3 separate regions of the Homo sapiens genome follow, and regions 2 and 3 are each linked to region 1. Evidence: promoter capture Hi-C in 16 types of primary human blood cells and fetal thymus (Javierre and others, 2016). All regions are on one chromosome and are shown on one strand. The core of a region is centred on a gene start or on the middle of the fragment in contact, and the rest is flanking DNA. Distances in the headings are between cores, read along the strand shown.

What was found. Contacts are between HindIII fragments. The CHiCAGO score rates a contact against its expected background, and 5 or more counts as called.
Region 2: a contact is called between the fragment with the promoter of PIANP here and a fragment that was not itself captured in region 1, in 2 of 17 cell types (non-activated CD4 T cells and naive B cells). The highest score is 6.0, in non-activated CD4 T cells.
Region 3: a contact is called between the fragment with the promoter of GNB3 here and a fragment that was not itself captured in region 1, in 5 of 17 cell types (non-activated CD4 T cells, activated CD4 T cells, naive CD8 T cells and 2 more). The highest score is 8.8, in non-activated CD4 T cells.

What each region holds. Positions count from the first base shown.
Region 1 is chr12:7,111,635-7,115,947 of GRCh38, forward strand. It overlaps C1RL-AS1 (C1RL antisense RNA 1), which reads left to right. Exons shown (of 12, transcript NR_026947.1): 6 at 373-430; 7 at 3,496-3,585; 8 at 3,752-4,313. It also overlaps a transcript of RBP5 not described here. Among named protein-coding and RNA genes, the nearest start is that of C1RL, 4.6 kb to the left of the region's middle. RefSeq lists an enhancer at 1,633-2,134. The HindIII fragment of the contact is 4,009 bases long and covers 168-4,176 here.
Region 2 is chr12:6,698,930-6,703,242 of GRCh38, forward strand. It overlaps PIANP (PILR alpha associated neural protein), which reads right to left and starts at 1,886. Exons shown (of 5, transcript NM_001244014.2): 1 at 1,685-1,886. RefSeq lists an enhancer at 666-1,167. The HindIII fragment of the contact is 12,862 bases long and covers 1-4,313 here.
Region 3 is chr12:6,838,534-6,842,846 of GRCh38, forward strand. GNB3 (G protein subunit beta 3) reads left to right here and starts at 2,392. Exons shown (of 10, transcript NM_002075.4): 1 at 2,392-2,500; 2 at 2,725-2,811; 3 at 3,053-3,091. The coding sequence starts at 2,755. It overlaps P3H3 (prolyl 3-hydroxylase 3), which reads left to right. Exons shown (of 15, transcript NM_014262.5): 14 at 467-607; 15 at 764-1,314. The coding sequence ends at 928. The HindIII fragment of the contact is 12,557 bases long and covers 1-4,313 here.

The DNA of each region.
Region 1 (4,313 bases), core at 922-3,421:
ATGTCTTTAAAATATGTAGAACTGTTCCAGGCAAAAATTATAACATTGTATTGTGAGGTTTATAACATATGTAGCTGTAACATATATGAAGACTGTAGTATAAAGCAGGGGTCCCCAACCCCTGAGCCGTGGACCAGTATTGGAGGTGAGTGGTGGTGAGCAAGCAAAGCTTCATCTGTATTTGTAGCTGCTTCCCATCACTCACATTACCATCTGAACTTCGTCTTCTGTCAGCAGCAGCAGCAGCAGCAGCATTAGATTCTCATAGGGGCACGAACCCTATTGTGAACTATGCATGGAGGGATCTAGGCTGTGTGCTCCTTATGAGAATCTAATGCCTGGTGACCTGTCACTGTCTCCTATCACCCCTAGATGGGACCGTCTAGTTGCAAGAAAACAAGCTCAGGGCTCCCACTGATTCTACATTACGGTGAGTTGTATAATTATTAATATTTCATTATATATTACAATAACAATAATAATAGAAAGAAAACATGCAATGAATGTAATGTGTTTGAACTATCCTGAAACCATCTCCCTCTGGCCCCATCCCTGGTTTGTGGAAAAACCGTTTTCCATGAAGCCAGTCCCTTGTGCCAAAAAGGGTGGGGACTGCTGGTATAGAGGACAAGGGGGTGGACTCATGGTTACAAGTTTCCTTCATTTCACATGAAGTGGTACAATAGGAACTGAGAAAACTGGAGTTTAGGATGCAGACTAATTCCCAGAGCAGCGGGTCTCCACCCTGTGGTGTGGGAAGACCCACAGGCCCTAAGATCCTTTCACGGGGTCTGTGAGGTAACAAAATGACTTTCATAAAAATACTCAGATGTTCTTTGCTTTTTTCCCTCTCATTCTGTCATGGTATATGGTGGATTTACAGAGGCTACGTGATGTGCAATGATTCATCCGTGGCAGTGAGCGGGATGCGTGCTTGTGTATCTTTGTGATTTAAAATGTTCTCAATTTTGATTTCTAGTACAGTGACTATTAATAGATATACCCTACATAAGCCAAAGCTCTCTGGAGTTCTCAATAATTTTTTAAGGGTATAAAGTTTGAGAACAGTTGCCCTAGGGTGACTACTAGTAGAAAAAAGCAAAGAAGTATAGCTGAAAGGCCGATGTAGAAATGAAAATGGATGTCTGAATTTGGGGGGACTTTTTTCTAATAGGGTAACCTATTAGAAATCATCCTGGTCTGTCTAGAAATGAGGTTTTCCTAGGACATGAGGTTTTCAACACTAAAACCAGTTAAGTTCCCCGACACGCCAGGACAGTTGGTCACCTTATTGCTAACACTTCAATCATTTACTTCAGTTCCCTTTCCCTTACCCAAGTGTCCCTAAAGAGCATAGGCCACCTCTGCTCTATGTTAAGGCCCCCAAGTGCAGGTAAGGGAGCTGGGATTCCTGGCATGCTAAGTAAAGGTAGCAAGCTACCAAATTGTAAGGATACTATGTTTACAAATATAGAAAGCACCCGTGAGAAAAATCTAAAATAACTGCTTCCTATTAGAGTATGGGGTTGTGGATGATTTAAACCATGTTTCTCTGTTTAGTAAAACTTCTTTAATATTATTTAATAACTTTGATAGTTACAAAATAAATGTATCTGAAATTATAATTGTGACCAGATGGTCCTTTCTGAGCCAGACAGGATTAGAGAATGAGGGGATGGATCCTTTAATCGGCATCTTTAATCCACATGATTAATGAAGAAGTTTTTGTCCTTGCATATAAACTTAGGCCAGGCATGGGTCTTTCCAATCTTAGCTGGGCAAACAAGGTTGGGGTGCTCCAGTGACTTTATTTTTGGTTTTATTTTTGAAAATCGTGTTGGTGCTGCCCCCTTCTGTCCTGAAAGGGGAAGGGCAGGACAACAGAAAGTGCCTTGGGGCTTCCTGGCCAGGGAGTTTCTCTGCAGCCTTCATGAGCCCCCAGCATTTAGAGAGGAGCTTGCCCTCTCCTGGAATCCAAACAGCCACAGGAGAGCCCAGGCAGAGGAGTCTGGGGCAGCACGAGCCATTTCTGTCCACAGCTTCCCTGTCTTATCTCTAGATACCTTGCCCTGGGCTGGGACACGTGGGGGCTTTTGTGCCCAGTGCCAGGTGAGGAGGGAGATACAGGAGCGAGGTGAAGAGCAGCAGGGGTGATGAGGCGGCTGAGTCAGCCAGACTGGGACCCTTTGCTTCTGTCTGGCATGGCCAGTGGAGATGTGGACAGCCCAGGGCAGAGGGGTGACCCTAATGGGTCACACTCCTCCACCCCCAAGTTATCTCAGGCTTTCATGTCAGGGCCTTGACTTCCATGCCTTATGGACACCTAGGCAGTCGCTAGCTCAACCCCAATGGAGTGTCAGCCACTAGGTTTAGCCCTTAAGCCCATCCTCCCTACTCTGCCAGTATCTAAAATCTCAATCAATCGTGCCCCTTCCCAGGTTAAAACTTTTCAATGACTGTGCCTCCTGATCCATGAGATGAAGCCCCAGCCACTTGTTTGTCTCGTCAGGTTCTTCCTTCATAATCAGGCTCTGCATGACTTTCTGGCTTCGCTCTCCACCGCTGCCGCCTCGCATGTGTGTTCCAGGCGCGGTCATGATGCTATGGCTTCACAAACATGCCTTGCGTTTGCATGTGTGACTCCCCGACCAATGCCGTGTTCTTCAGTCATCAGCATAACATGCTGCTTAAAGGAGTGGGCTTGTGTGCCACACTCACCAGGTTTAAACCCAGGCTCTACCATTTAAAAGTTTGGTGACCAAGGCCAGCTTACATAATTTCTCTGTGCCTCTTAACATCCTCATCTGAAGAACAAGGATGAGGACAACGGTACCCACACCAGAGGGTTGGTGTGAGGGTTAAATGAGTTAATAACCAGAATTGCTTAGGGCAGTGTCTGTCATTTGGCAAACAATAAATATCATTACTTGCTTAGGAAGCAGAATAGAATAGCAAAATGGTTAGATCAGTGGTACTCAACAAGGAGCAGTTTTGCTCCCCAGGGGATATTTGATGATATCTAGAGATTTCTTTTTTCCATTACTGGCATTTAGTGGATACAGGCCAGTGATGCTGGTAAGCATCCTAGTGCACAAGGCAGCAGGTCCCACAACAAAATGTTACCTGGTCCTGAACGTCAATAGGGGCGAGGTGGAGAAACTGAGGGTTGGGTGGTCAGGCTCCAATCTGTTTGGGTTCAAATCCCATCTCTGTCTTTTATTTCATGTATAACCTTTGGCAAATTACTTAAAATTCTCTGTTCCTTAGTTTTCTTATCTGTAGAATGGGGACAATAACCTGTGCTTGGGTTCCTGAGAAGAGTCAGCGTTCGGCATGTAGTACTCATGCCCTGGATGCCGGCCATTTTTACTCACCTCTCTCCCCGTGTCCTCTCCTCTGGGAAGCCCTCTTTGACTCAGAGAAAATGACTTTCCCTGTGCTCATGGACTCTTGATGCATGATAACCTCCTGCCCGTGTGTCTGTCTTTCCCACAGGGCTGTGGGTTCCTTGAGGGAGGAATTTTGTCCTGCAGGCTGTGGCAGCCCTAGGACTCAGCACATCTAGGTGTCCACCTGCGTCTGTGGGTGAGTTCTTGGGATGGGGCAGAGTGGGGAGTATGCACCAGGTTTTGGAGTTTTCAAGGTGTGCAGGGAGGAAGAGAAGCAGGTGGTAGACAGGTGCATCTGGGAGATGGGGTTGGGTAGAGTTTGAGGGTCTGAACACGGCCCTGCCCCATTTACTATTCTCTAGTGAGAAGCCTGATCATTGCCACGTGACCGCCTCCTCACTGTTGGTACCTGGTTGTAGAGAGCAGCTCTGTGAGTAGAAGGAGAAGGATCCTGCCCTGGAGAGGGCCTGGCTGGTCCTCACCTGGGGCCTATCATTTAGTAACAGGGCTTCTGGAAGTGGTAGCAGATCTGGGCCTGGTGGGCATTCTGCTTCTCCTGGGTGGCAGCAGAAGTCCCTAGGTGGCAGGCTGGGGACTGCCCAAAGGTTCTGACTCAGGAAGAGCACAGTGGAACAGAAAGCCCTTGTACCACCTTCGCTGCTGTATTCGTCCATTCTCACACTGCTGTACAGAACTACCTGAGACTGGGGAATTCATGAAGAGAAGAAGTTTAATTGACTCACAGTTCTGCGGGCTTAACAGGAAGCATGACTGGGAGGCCTCAGGAAGCTTATAATCATGGCAGAAGGCGAAGGGGAAGCAAGGACCTTCTTCACATGGCAGCAGGAGAAAGAGAAGAAGGGAGAAGTCTACACACTTTTAAACAACCAGATCTCATGAGAATTCCATCGGGAGACAGCACTA
Region 2 (4,313 bases), core at 636-3,135, 410 kb before region 1:
CCTGTGGATTCTGGGTCTAAATCTGCCCAATGGGCCAGACGCAGTGGCTCACGCCTGTAATCCTAGCACTTTGGGAAGCCAAGGCGGGTGGATCACCTGAGATCAGGAGTTCGAGACTAGCTTGGCCAACATAGTGAAACCCCGTGTCTACTAAAAATACAAAAATTAGCCGGGGGTAGTGGTGGGCGCCTGCAATCCCAGCTATTCAGAGGGCTGAGGCAGAAGAATCCCTTGAACCTGGGAGGCGGAGGTTGCAGTGAGCTGAGATCACACCATTGCACTCCAGTCTGGGCAACAAGAGCGAGACTCCGACTCAAAAAATAAAATAAATAAATCTGCCCATTGAATCTTCCCAGAGAACAACAAGGGAACAAGATGGGAAAGTCACGGGAAGGGCGTGGGGAAGCAGGCAGTGGGAGAGATGGGAAGGGGTGAAGGGCTGGGAGATGGAAGGCTGGTTAAGAGTGAGAGAGGAGAAATGTGAAGAGGAAGCTGGCCTGGAGTGCAGGGTGAGAGAGAGCAGGCAGTCCTGAAAAAGAGAGAACTGGGAAGAGAGGAGGAGAGTGGGTACAGAAGACTCGAACTGTGGAGGATGCCGAAGGGAGGAAAGGATGAGAGAAAAGGTCAGGGAGGGGAAACGGAGAGGATGAAGGGGTCACAGGTGCAGGGGAAGAAGGGGCAGGAGGAGAAGGAGAGAGCGGTCCAGGCAGGACAGCCAGAGGAGTGGAGAGTAAGGGGATGGGAGAAAAGGGGGGAAAGCCCAGGATGGGGAGAAAGGAAGTGGGGAAGGAGAGAACATAAATGCTTAAGGAAAAATGACACGAGGAACGGGCTGGGAAGCAGAGGCGGGAGCAGCAAAGATGGAGGAGTTCGGAATTGCTCCCCCAAATGTAAAGGGATGTGGAGATACCGAAAGACATAGGGATGGGGGCATGGTGGGAAGAAGGGAGAGAGAGGGGAAAGGAAGAAAGCTAGAGGGAGGGAGCGAGGCGTGTAGAGCGAACCAGTGAAGCGGAGAAGGGCTCCCAGGGCGCATCTGTGGCCAGCTGACTCTAGGACTATCGCCCCTCCGCCTGTGCATCCCCACCCCCAGCCAGCGCCAACCCAGTCCCTGGGCCCCGCACAGCTTCAGCCGCCCCCTCCAGGAAGCCCGCAGTCCCCGGGCTGGCGCGCCACCCCCACCCCTCTCCCAGCTTCTCACCGACCTGTTGTGCGCAGGAGACGAGCTGGGGGTGGGGCAGGAGCCTCGGGGTGCGGGAGCCGGGCCCCAGCCCCAGCGTGGCCCCCATCCCACCCATCCCGCAGGCCCGCACTCCCCGCACAGGGCTGGAGAGCGGCGAGAGTGGGGGGAGACGAGGAAAAGGAGGTCGGCGAAGGGACCCCGAGGCAGGGAGTGCCGAGAGCGGACTGGGGACCCGAAGCAGGAGACTGCGCGGAGCCGCCCGCCGAGCCGAGGCGGGATGGAGGCAGCCGCGGGGACGGGGACGGCTGCGCCAGGGAGGGCGGGAGCGAGCCAGGACCGCGGAGGGATGGAGAGCCCTTCGGGGAAGGGGCGCTGGGAGGCTGGAGGCCTTGTCCCGGGCGAGGGACCGCGTCGGGAGGGGCAGGAGGCGCAGGGCGCGGAGCCGGGAAGGGCAGGGCCGGGCTCCCCGCGGGTGGGGGCGTGGGGGTCCCTCTCACTCACCTGCATGCTTGGCGCGGCGGCGCGACGACTGCGGGCGCTCGGGACTGAGCGGGGCTGGGGGGTCGCAGGAGCGGGCGGGGTGCGGGGCATGGTGGGGAGGTTTGGCCCGCGGCAGGGCGCTGGAGCGGGTGGGGGGCGGGCGCCTGGGGCGCGGGGCGGCGGCGGTGGGAGATGCTCGCCTCGGCTCGGCTCGGCTCGGCTCGGCTGGGCTCGGCGCGGCGGCTGGGACCGCTCCGTCTCCGTCTCCGCCTCCCCCCCGCGCCGGAGGCCACGCACGGTTTAACCCTCCTGCTGCCGCGCTGCAGGAGTCAAGCCAGGCTATGTCCCAGGTGGAGGGCTGAAGAGGCTGGCAGGGTCCAGCGACCGTCCGCTTCCCTGGGTTCTGATGGCAGTCTCCCCACCTCCTTCACCCCAACTCCAGGGACACCCATGGTCGCCTCAGTCAGTTTCTGAGATTCTGAGTCACTCAATGCTCTGCATTCCCAACTTTGTTCTTTTGTATTGTGTTTTGTAGAGATGAGGTCTCGCTGTGTTGCCCAGCCCGGTCTCGAACGCCTGGGCTCAAGCGATCCTTCCCGCTCAGCTTCCCGGAGTGCTGGGATTACAGGCGTGAGTCACCACTGCCTGTCCCCCAACTTGGTTTTGCCCGCTGTAGAAAGTGCCTGAGGTCAAGGCTGGGGGCAAGGGGTGGAGGAAAGGACTGGGGAGGAAGGACCTTGCACCATCTTTGGATTATCCCCACAGCTTGATCCCCTATTTCACTCTGGCCCTGCTACCATGCATTAAGTGGATCACGTCGAAATTCCTGGGCTTTTCCAGCACTGGAATACCTAGACTCCGTGCTGTGACTTACAAGACCCTATATAACCTGGCTCTTAGGTGGCTCTCTGATTGCCTTTCCTAAAGATTTCTATGCTTCAGCCACATGGGACCTGGTGGATTTCCTGGTTGGAGACAGGTTTAACCTGCCTCAGGGCCTTTGCACTTGCTGTTCCCTCAGTAATACATTTCCCTGGCTTTTCACAATGACTTACTGTTTTCATTCCAGTCTCACTTAGATCCAACGCCTTCTGGGAGGCCTTCCCTAATGTCTCTATCAAAAGTAGCCTCTCCTGCCCCTTCTCCCACCACCTGGATCCCATCCCTCTCTACCACACTACGCTGTTTTTCCTCAGGGCACTTCCAGGACACCACACTCTCCTCATTTCCCTCCAACCTCACTGACTGTTCTTAGTCTTCCTCGGGTGACCTCTAAATGTTGGAGCCTCCTAGGGCTTAGTCCTTGGCCATTCTCTCTTTCCACATTCTCTGTCCAGTGATCTCATCCGGTCCCAGGGCTTAAATACTATGTAAATGTCAGTGAGTCCTAAATTTATATCCAGAGCGCCAGACTCATTTATCCGACAGCCTACTTGACATCTCCACTTGGATGTCTAATAGCCATGCAAAGCTAACTTGACTAAAATAGATGTCTTGAATTCCCCCACCCCCAATCCATTTTTCTCCCAGTGATCCCCATCCTGAGGCTTCACAACTACTAGTTGTTCAGGCTAAAAATCTAGGAAACATCCCTCCCTTCCCCTTTTTTTCACTGATTCTCTCCCTGTATCTAATTCACCAACAAGTCCTGTGGGCTCTGCGTCCAAAATATATCCCGAATTCATCTCCTTCTATCTTTATTGCTATAGTCTTGGTCTAAGCCATCATGTCTCATCCAGATTATCATAATAGCTTCCTCACTGGTCCCTGCTTCTGCCCTTGTCTTTACAAACTAGTTTTTCCTATATTGATAATATTTTAAAAATCAAAAGCATGTCATGCTCTTCTCTGCTTAAAATATTCGAGTGGTTTTTCATTACACTTGGAATAAATCTGAACTCCTTGTAAGGAGAAGCCCACCAGCCTGTACCCACCTCATACACAGTGCTCCTGCTGGATCAGACTACTTGCTGTTCTGTAACATCAGAAGTCATTCTCTTAGCATCCCTGCACTTTTTTTTTTTCTCGAGACAGTGTGTCTCTCTGTTGCCCAGGCTGGAGTGCAATGGCACGATCTCAGTTTACTGCAACCTCCGCCTCCCAGGGTCAAGCAATTCTCCTGCCTCAGCTTCCCAAGTAGCTAGCGTGTGCATGCAGGGGGGCCCTTCCAGCCTTCCCAGCCCTCCCACCCCTCTGGCAGTGCCCACTAGTGCCCTGCTAATTTTTGTATTTTTTGTAGAGACAGGGTTTCACCATGTTGGCCAGGCTAGTCTTGAACTCCTGACCTCAAATGATCCACCAGCCTTGGCCTCACGAAGTTCTGAGATTACAGGCGTGAGCCACTGCGCCCGGCCCCTCCACTTTTGATTCCCTCTTCCTGGAATGTTTTGCCACCCCTCTCCCCATCTTCACCTGGTTGGCTCCTTCATCCCTGCTCAAAATCTAAAGTGGCCCCCACTCTGTTTCCTCATTATGTTTCATTGTCTTTCCAACTCATCACTTTCTATTTGTTTATTTATTTATTGAGATGGAGTTTTGCTCTCGCAGCCCAGGCTGGAGTGCGATGGTGCAATCTTGGCTCACCGCAACCTCTGCCTCCTGGGTTCAAGCGATTCTCCTGCCTCAGCCTCCCAAATAGCTGGGATTACAG
Region 3 (4,313 bases), core at 1,142-3,641, 270 kb before region 1:
ATTAATGAATGTTAGGTGGGAAATTTCCGGACACCAGGGGCTAGGATTGGGTAGGAGGAGAGGGGCAGTGATTGTTCATCTGGGTGTGGGGTGTGAAAATGGTTCCAATATCTGTATCCCCTTCTGCATAGAGTCTGGTACTGCATGCACAGCCCCAGATTGCTTCAAGCCCTGGATTCAAAGGGCTGAGTGGGAAAAATCAGGGTACCAGGGGTCAGGAACCAACAGGAGACCATCCGTGGAGACCCCTTTTTCCTTTGGTTCCCAACTCCTCTTGCATTTTTGCTCTGCAAGTTGAAGCTGATTTCTCATTTGCCCCAAGCTAGTCCCTGAATTAAGGAGTAGGAAGTGGTAGCGAGAGAGCTGATCCTCTCTGTGCCCCTGTCCCCATCCTGCTCTAGGGAGTGAGGGCCAAGTTCTCTGAGAGAGCCAATCCCTGGAGCTGAACCTGCCCTCATCCCTCCAGGCTCGGGTGCGTCCTCGCTGTGGGCGCCTTGTGGCCTTCAGCTCCGGTGTCGAGAATCCCCATGGGGTGTGGGCCGTGACTCGGGGACGGCGCTGTGCCCTGGCACTGTGGCACACGTGGGCACCTGAGCACAGGGAGCAGGTAAGGAGCGGGGTAGGAAGGGATGTGGTTCTCCTGGTGCGTGAAGGGTGGGCAAGGAGCCCCCGAGAAGGCTCACAGTCGGTGAGGGTCAGGGGCTGAGCTGACCCAGGGAAGGTGGGTGCAGGGAATGGGCCACACTCTCCTCCCCAACCCCAGGAGTGGATAGAAGCCAAAGAACTGCTGCAGGAGTCACAGGAGGAGGAGGAAGAGGAAGAGGAAGAAATGCCCAGCAAAGACCCTTCCCCAGAGCCCCCTAGCCGCAGGCACCAGAGGGTCCAAGACAAGACTGGAAGGGCACCTCGGGTTCGGGAGGAGCTGTGAGTGGCTGAGCCAGCTCCTTGAGGATGTGGCCACTTGACTTGTGGAAGGCCATCTTGATGCCAGGACACACAGGAAGCCCCTGTGTGACATCAGGAGCAGAACAGCAAGCTCTCTGTCCCTGCACCCCCACCATCTTGGGGACCTACAAGGGCCTGGACTCAGAGGACAGTGCACAGGCTAGCCTGGAGCTCACCAGGCCTGGGGAGCTGGGACGGGGCCCCGCTGCCGGACCTGCAGCCCTGGACAGATGGGGAACACTGTGCCTCCCTGAACAGAAATGGCAGGGGAGGAGGCTGATGCTTTAAATGAAGAGGATGGTGGGGTTGGGAGGTATAACCCTGCTCCTCTCTCCCAGTCTGTGCAATAAAGGTCGTGAAGATCTCTCAGCCAGGGGCCAGTCAAGTGTATCACAGATTCTGTGATGGCTGGAGGTGGGGGTGGCTCTGGCTGGCCTGGGAGGAGACAGGTGTCTTTGGGCCTCCCAGAGGCGGGGCGCCTGGAGCCTGTGATTTGTCAGGGAAATCTCAGCCACCTGCTCCCCTCATGCAAATGACCCAAGCCCCTGGCAGCTGCTCCTTAGGCCTCCAAGTGTAAGCCCTGTCTTCCCTCTCTGAGCTTTGCTGAGACTTAGGGCCGCCTGCTTTCTCTCTGACCCCTGCTTTCACAGCCTCGAGAGGGCAAGGAGGGGGCCAGACCCCAGCCTGGGAGCAGCGTGCGGGCCTTCCCTCCACTTGAAATCCGTTGCCCGCCCACAATAGGGGCAGACCTGTCCATCCTTCTCTGTGGGTCCCCTGTACCTTTCTCCCCCAACAGGATCAGACCCAGAGGCAGCTGGTTGGGGTTTGTCGAGAAGAAGGATTATCCAGATCAGTCCTTTCTAATCTCAGCTCCTGCCTGTACCCTCCCATACTCACCAAACCCTCTTCCCCACCACCCTGAGCTGAGGAGCACAGTTTGAGGTACTGACAATGGGGCCATCTATCACCCTTATATCCCACCTCCTGGCCTGGTTGCTAAGTGGCCCTGACTGCCAAGATCATCACCATGGATGGGGGCCGGGACCAGGGGGGCCACTGGAGCTGTAGTTGTCTGCTCCTTTGCACCCCTCCCAAACCCCAACCCTTAATCCTCACAGCTTTGCTCTAATCCTGTGGGGCCTGATGCTCTTATCTCTGCCTGCAGAGACTGACCAGGGAAGCACCCCTTCACCCCCTCCTCTCTCAGGGCTTGTGGTGGGGGCTGCCCCTCTCTATGGCCCCACACTCCTGCCCCCAACCCTCCTCCCGGCTGGGCCCAAGTCTCTCTGGAATCCGTACACCTCCCTCCCTCCCCCCACCCCTTCCCCCCACCCCTGCCAGCTGATTTCATTTGCCTGACGTTGTGGTTGGCTCTACCCTTCCCTGTCAGGCCCCCCCAACCCCCCGCCGGTCGGGGCCAGGCCAGGCCAGGCCAGCTCCTCTGGCAGCAGAGCCTGGGCAGGTGACGGGCGGGCGCGGGCGTCGCAGCTGAGGGAGTAAGGAGGCTCCCAGGAACCGGAGCTGGAAACCCGGCCGAGGTCCAGCCAGAGCCCAAGTAAGAGGGAGCTGGCCTGGGCTCTGCTCTCCTGGGCTGGGGCGCAGGCAGGGCTCAGGCAGGCTGGGGCTGGACGCAAAGGACCTCAAACTTGGAGGGCCTAGCTGGGGAGAGGGTGCAGCCACCCAGTCGTTTCCCTGTGTCTTGGAGTCTGGTGTGGGCACGAAGGGCAGAAGCACAGCCTGGTGGGGGGTTCCTCAACACCGACCCCATGTTCCTGGCAGGAGCCAGAGTGACCCCTCGACCTGTCAGCCATGGGGGAGATGGAGCAACTGCGTCAGGAAGCGGAGCAGCTCAAGAAGCAGATTGCAGTAACTCCAGAGCCCTACCCCTGGGGCCCCAGAAAACAGCTGGGGACATGAGGAGCGTGGCCCAGGGGGAGGGGGCTGGGTTTGCTCTTGAGTGACTAGAAGTGACCAGGGACTTTCTAAACTTGGTTCGCATATTTGAGACCCCCAAGCCCCAGAGCCCCAAGACCAACCTGCCCTGAAGGCCCATGCACCTGCCACCCCCACCTCGCCCTTGCTCCCCTGATGTCTGCTTTCCCTGCAGGATGCCAGGAAAGCCTGTGCTGACGTTACTCTGGCAGAGGTAAGACCCCCTGTCCCCCGGAAGGCAGGGCATGGGGGGAGGGGAAGGGAGCTCCCCGACCCGCAATAGCGCGTTGCTCCGAGCATTAGTACAGCACGTCCTTGGAGTGAGGAAACCCATTAATTAATTCATTCGACCAACATTTTAGCGGGACCTGCTCTGAGCCAGGCACCATATTGGATGCGAAAGATGCGGACACGGTTCCTATTCTCATCCGTAGAACAAGAGTGACCACAGCCCCCTCCCAGGGCCTTGAAGATGAAGAAGCGATAGTACTTTGTAAATTATAAAGCCCTTGTAGACTCTAGCTGCTAGTTTTCTATGCTGTATTTTGTCAATTCTAAGATGCACATTTCTTCACATTTTGACATCTCTGAAATCAAGGTGCATTCAGCAATGGATCATTGTTTCAATTAGAATTGACAGCATCTTTTCTTTCTTAGTGATGCATCTTAGATTGGATTAAATATGTTAATAGTGAACACTTTTTATGAGCCAGATACTGGGCTAAGCTGCATAAATACCTGATTTCATTGAATTTTCATGATATCTCTGTAAGGTAGGTGCTATGATAAGCCTCATTTTACACCTTGAGTAAACAGACTCAGGGAGGTGAAGCAACTTGCCCAAGATAACAAAGCAGGCCGGGCGCAGTGGTTCACGCCTGTAATCCCAGCCCTTTGGGAGACTGACGTGAAAGGATCACTTGAGCTCAGGAGTTTGAGACCAGCCTGGGCAACATAGTGAGATCTCTTCTTAATATAAAAAAAATTGCTTTTAACTTTTTAAAAAAAGATAGCAATGCAAGTGATGGCAAATCAAGTCTGTTCACTCTGGACCCCCAGCCTAAGTCTAAAATGTGGTTAGAGCTCAAGGGGCATAGTACCACAGATTTCAGGAGGTACAGTTCAGGGTCATGGTGATGCCCCAGGCACCCAGTTAAAAAGCTAGCCGTGCTGCAGCGGTGGGTGCAAGCAGGCTCCTCTCGGCTTGGGAGAGCCAGCTCTGTGCATCTCTTCCCAAATCTGTTTCCAATGACCTCACATTGGCAGCTGGAAACTGGTCAAAGTGCAAGTATTCGTATCGTGGAAATCACCTTCCCACCTTCCTCACCAACACTGGAGAGGTGCTTGTTAAACACTTACAAGCAACACACCTCTGGCCATGCATGCATCTCTTTCCCACATCAGTCTAAGACACTCCAGGGCAGAGACTTATTTCT